2 separate regions of the Homo sapiens genome follow, and region 1 is linked to region 2. The links are contacts of gene promoters, found by promoter capture Hi-C in blood cells and fetal thymus (Javierre and others, 2016). All regions are on one chromosome and are shown on one strand. The core of a region is centred on a gene start or on the middle of the fragment in contact, and the rest is flanking DNA. Distances in the headings are between cores, read along the strand shown.

Evidence for each region. Contacts are between HindIII fragments. The CHiCAGO score rates a contact against its expected background, and 5 or more counts as called.
Region 1: a contact is called between the fragment with the promoter of TOM1L1 here and the fragment with the promoter of CA10 in region 2, in 1 of 17 cell types (endothelial precursors). The highest score is 9.8, in endothelial precursors.

What each region holds. Positions count from the first base shown.
Region 1 is chr17:54,899,448-54,902,147 of GRCh38, forward strand. It overlaps TOM1L1 (target of myb1 like 1 membrane trafficking protein), which reads left to right and starts at 1,405. Exons shown (of 16, transcript NM_005486.3): 1 at 1,405-1,476. The coding sequence starts at 1,419. LOC124904033 (a long non-coding RNA gene) reads right to left here and starts at 1,290. Exons shown (of 2, transcript XR_007065854.1): 1 at 1-1,290. RefSeq lists a silencer at 1,080-1,419 and enhancers at 1,500-1,609, 1,630-1,719. The HindIII fragment of the contact is 6,286 bases long and covers 1-1,947 here.
Region 2 is chr17:52,157,314-52,160,013 of GRCh38, forward strand. It overlaps CA10 (carbonic anhydrase 10), which reads right to left and starts at 1,401. Exons shown (of 9, transcript NM_020178.5): 1 at 413-1,401. The coding sequence starts at 473. RefSeq lists a silencer at 1,956-2,250. The HindIII fragment of the contact is 15,466 bases long and covers 1-2,700 here.

The sequences.
Region 1 (2,700 bases), core at 155-2,654, 2.7 Mb after region 2:
GGAGAATATTAGTTACACGTGGGACAAATCCCATTATGAGACATATCATCACAACAAGAATATTTCATTCTAGATTTTAGAATCCCAGGTTTTGGCTCACTTTGGTCAAGAAAAATTATAAATAATTGAGTTACAGATAATTAAATGTTAGCCTCCTGGAGTGCATGGCAATTGGTTTTGACCTCTATATTAAAATTCACAAGACCACGGACATAAGTCAAAACAGGTCCCCTTCGTCTCCCTAGTCACCATCTCCAGGGCTAAAAAACAGACTTGAAATGGGTGGCAGTTAGACTACAGGAAACAGGATCTACAAGCACCAGGAGCTCATCTATGGCTATCTGACATCGCCTGGGGACACCTCACTCTCTGGCAGGCTCCTGCTGGCTGGAGATTGTTAACATCGCCAATCAGATGTTAATTGAATGCAAAGGAATAGGAAATAAATTCTGGTTCTGAAGGGGCAGCTGGAAAGGTGTTGGGCTTCTCAGATTCCAACCTACATTACAAAGCAGGCCTAAAGCCAAGCATACTCCTTGCCAGAAGAAACGGAAAGCCCCTCTCCCGTTTTTAGAATCAGGCTGGAAAACACGGCTCCCAGAAGGTGGGGTTAGAAAACAAGAGCTTGCGAGGCGGCGCCCTGTGGTCCCTCGAGGAAATAGTAGAGAGACAAAGAGGGCCTGCTCCTGGGAAGCCCTAAATTCGAAGCCAATCCTTCCTCCTAGACATGACCACAACTTTAAAGGGCAGGGCGCACACCTCCCCTCCCGGATCTCTAGGACAAAGGCAGGTCGAGGGTAAATATTTCTAGTTATTCAGTATATTCAGTGGCTAACTATTTATTTTGTGGGTACCAGACACCGACATAATCGGTTACGTCCTTCCCTTAATTCTCATAATTCTGAGGTTTGTGTTATTAACCCCCTATTATCTTTGGTCTACCCAGGGCAGCCAAAGAGGCGCAGAGAAGAATGACAAGGTGCCCAGCAAGCGGCAGGATCAAAGCCTGGGTCTCTAATTCCCAGGCTGGAGATTCTGGGCTGCCTGCTCCTCCTGCACGGGGCGAAAAGCCCACCTGGGATCCGAGCGGGCGGCCGCGCCACTCTCGCAGGCTCCATACACCCGCCACTACCCGCCTGTACCACCTGCAGCCGGCAGCGCAGCCTCCTCGCGGGTCCCGCAGGGCGCGCTGCAGGTGCGCTGGGCGTCCCGAAGCCCCGCCCTCGCGTCCCTGCCCCGCGCCCAGCTCCTCACGCTCGGTGCCCGCGCCCCGCAGCGGCAGCGCAGAACGCACCGCCTCTGCCAGAGCCCGGGAAGCGCTCGGGCGAAGAGGAGGAGCCAAGGGTACCGAGCGGGTGGAGTCGGGAGCCGGAGAGCGGTGGAGGCGGATTTCCTGGGCCCGGCCCTCTGGCGCTACCATGGCGTTTGGCAAGAGTCACCGGGATCCCTACGCGACCTCCGTGGGCCACCTCATAGGTAAGGAGGCGCGGGGAGAGACGCCCAGGCAGGCAGGGGACCGTGGGATCCTTTCCTGCTTGATCCATTCTCGGCCTGCAGAGGACGGAGTTAGTCCAACTTGAAAAAATTATTCCCCTCCCCCCGCAACTTTCCCAAGGCACCCGCATTCCACCCGGCCCCCTTTCGTCGTTTCCTTCTTGGCCAACTCACTGTAGAACCTCAGTCCTCAAAAATGTACCTTCCTTTCGATGCCGCCTGGGGAGTGGAACCAAACAGGTGAACCGCGGGAGTCAGGCATGGAGTGTTTGGGCCTCCACGAGGAGACACCAGAAACTTCTCGGTAGGGGAAGTTATTCCTAAAGGCACATTCTCCAGGGCACGGTATTGTTATGCCCGTTTTACAGATCAGAAGAGGAGGCTCTGGGAGACTAAGTGATGTGGCCTTACTGTGAGGGGCAGGTCTCCCCAAACCAGTTTTCTCTAGTGCCAAGCTTATACAACCTGGATTACTTTTCTGGGTAAACAAAGAGAATGAAAATGCTTGGCATTGGAGTGAAGAGGAGGGGAACATAGGAGCCATCTGGGGCCACGGAGGTCTCTCGCAGGCCACTAGGGACTACACCAGCATCCACCTAAATGATTTCTCTCTCCTCCGGATGTACCTTGCATGATGTATGTAGAAGCCAGTGATTGGACTCCTACCAGCACCAGCTCACTGCTCCTTCTTTTCCCTGATTCCTCCCTTGGGAATTGGGTGTGGCACGAGTGCATATTAATGCCAGGCAAAGTGTGATGATGTCAGGAACTTAGTGGGGTGATGAAATCGTGAGAACCTAGTAGTTGTAGTAAAGAGGCCCAGATTTGGAAAATTTAGATCACAGCTCTACTAACTGCTGTGACACCGAACACACCACTTAAACAGAACCTTAGTTTACACATCCTTATAAGATGGTCAGAGTAGCTACCATTGAGGAGATGCTTTCCCTTAATGGCTGTGCTTTTTTGGATATTAGAATGAACCCCAAGCAGAAATGGATTCAGACTGTGTCTTCATAGGCAAACGAAACTTCAGCAGTTCTTCTGCTTAATTTTTTAATTCTGTAAACATGGACTAACTGTCAGCTATGTGCCTGGACCTGGATCAGGCACTGGTGAGGCCAAGGTGAGACGTGGTCTCAAACCTGAGGGAACTCACTTTCTTGTAGAGAAGACGGGCACAGTTTTGTGTGGCACCTTTGCAAT
Region 2 (2,700 bases), core at 151-2,650:
GGGCAGGGCCCCGCGTCCATTTTGCCAGCCAGGAACCACCGAGTCTGGGAACTTTGAAAGCCAGGGGATGGGGGTGGTTGTTGCCAAGGCTCGGATTTCGGCGCCAGAGTTCTCAGCCAGGAAAGCAGTTGAAAATCAACACCCATCTGCCTCTTCTTTCTCATCCCCCACCACTTTTTCCTTCACCCTTCTAGGACTGCACACAGATCCTAACCACCCCCCCCCGCAAAACACACACATTCACACACCCTTGGGCTGAGAAGATTTTTGATTCTGAAGGCGGCAAACCCGCAGAACTCAAAGGGTCTCGCCACCCCTCTCTCTGCCCCGCGGCTATATACAATAAAACCCCATACACCCCAGACATCACAACATAATCCAAATCAGCCAGTGACTTCGGCGCGTCCCGTACCTGATATGCAGACGATGAAATTGGCTTGAAGAAGAAAAAGCACCTCCCAGACTATTTCCATCCTCTGATTCTCATTCCAAGTGCATCACTCGACGGGAAAACGGGGGGAAGGGGGGAGCCCGACACGGCACACACACATACACACTCGCACACACTTCCGAGCGAGTGCACACTCGCACTCCCACCCGACAGCCGGCCAGGGACAGTCACCCCCAAGATCAATATCGCAGTTTGAATTGTTCCGGCAAATCTCCCCTCGGGCTCGACGGATGTGCGCCCCAGATGTGCTGACACATGTCCGATGCCTCGCTGCCTTGGAGGTCTCCCCGCTCGCGTGTCTCTTCTCTTCGCACCAGCGGCGGAAACCGCACTAGCAGCGGCGGCGGCGGCGGCGGCGGCAGCAGCCACCTGAAGCCACCAACACTGGGCTCTTCCAGCAAAAACGAGACCCCGATTCGTCTGGCGCCCCAAGAAGACATAGACGATAGCCCCCCGCCGGGCTGCGCCGTGCAATTCCGGGCTCCCGGGAGCGCGTAGCTCGCTGGCTAAGCCCAGGCAGTCCGCGGCAAGTTGCCCTCGAAGTCCGCCCCCCTCACCGGGGCATGGTCGGAGGGTGGCTGCTGCGCTCCGGGGCAGTTCTTCTCCTGCTTCCGGGGGGCGGGGAAGGAGCAGACACAGCAGACACACAGAGAAAGAGAGGCAGGGATTATTGCCCGAAACCGCCAGCCGCCGGCAGCCTCCGCCGACCCTCCCTGCTCCCCAGGTCCGCGCGCAGCCTGCAGCCTCTCAGCCGGGTTCCGGCAGTGCGTCCAGGGCGCCGAGGGGAAGGGCTGGGCCCCGGGGACTGGGGCGCGGTGGGGGCACACAGACTCTCCAGGTCGCGCGCGCCCTTCCTGCTCCTCTGCTATTTTCCTGAACTCCCCAGAACCCCCAGTTGCCTGGCTTCCATCGCCCGCAACTAGCGCCGCTGTCGAGATTTTCCGCAATACAACTGCAGGGGTCGTTATTTCCTCGCCTACGGATCCCTACGCTTCCCAACTCAGAGAGGAGGAGGACAGGTGGGGGCGGGAGGGGGAGGAGGAGAAGGAGGCTTGGCCAGGTGAGCGTCCTCGCCGCCGCCGGGCGTCCCAGCGTCAGCTCCGCAGCCCGGCACCCGGGGGCGGAGGCAGGAGGCCCGGGCGGGGAGGTGAGGCTGAGCGCGGCCATGAGGAGGAGGAGGAGGAGGCTGGGTGTCACAGCTTCAGGCCACCTTGGCCGCCGCCTCGGCCCCAGTCCCTGGCAGCCGCCTCCGCACTCCGCCCCGCCCTGGCTGCCTCTGTTACCCTCCAGGATTTTCGAGTTTCTCTTCTTAAAAAGAACTTCGTGCTGCGGGTTCGGCGCGGGAGACCCAGGCAGGACTCATCCTGGGAGTGCTGTGCTGTGCTCTCCCTCCGCTGCGAAATATTGGAGATTTTTTTGCATAATTCATTCCCTGCCCTCTCCATTTCGTCCCTCTCATGCCCCCCACCCTTTACCCCTTTCCGTGCCAGTGCCAGAACACTACTTACCCCAGAGTTCTTTTCTCTGCAGGTTCCTAGACCAGGTGCAACTCTTGCCTGCAAGTCCCTGCCTCCCTCCTCCCGAAAAGGGGGAACACCGCCTTTCCAAGTCCGGGTGCCAGCAGCGGCTGCTGCCAACTGCGCCTTCGCCCAACTCCAGGAGGATCCGGGACTATTGGAAACCCGGGCTTTAGAGGAACGGGCTTCCCTTCTTGTCTTTCTTTTATTCTGCTTTTCTTTAGGGAAGCTCTAGTGCTTTGGAGGCTTTTGCTGGGCTCCAGGATACTTTCCGCCAACGACACTCAGCAGCTTCCACTGAAGGAGATTTCCCCACCAAACCCGCGCGCGCACACACACACACACCCAGCGCGCGGCTCTCCAGGGCCCCAGGGGAAAGTAGGGGCGGCGCGAGCACCACCCACCCACCCAGGCCGAGGCCAGGGGCAGCCAGTCCGCAGAAGGTCTCGTGGGGAGGCGGGCTGTCTATAACCTAGGAAAGACTTGCACCCGGTTGCAGTGTGGATGCAGGGGAATTGAAGAAAACCCTGTGCTCAGAACTGCTTGCCTAAGAGGGCTGGGAACGAAAGGGGAAAGACAAAATCTCAACAGATTTGTCTGCTTCCATCGCTGCAGTGGTGGTTTGCGAAAGCTCAAACCTACCTCTTTGGGGTTATTGAAGAAGAGGAGGGAGCGTAGAGGGAATCCCTGGGAAGATCCAGGATTTCTCGGCGCGCTTGTCCCGATTGGGAA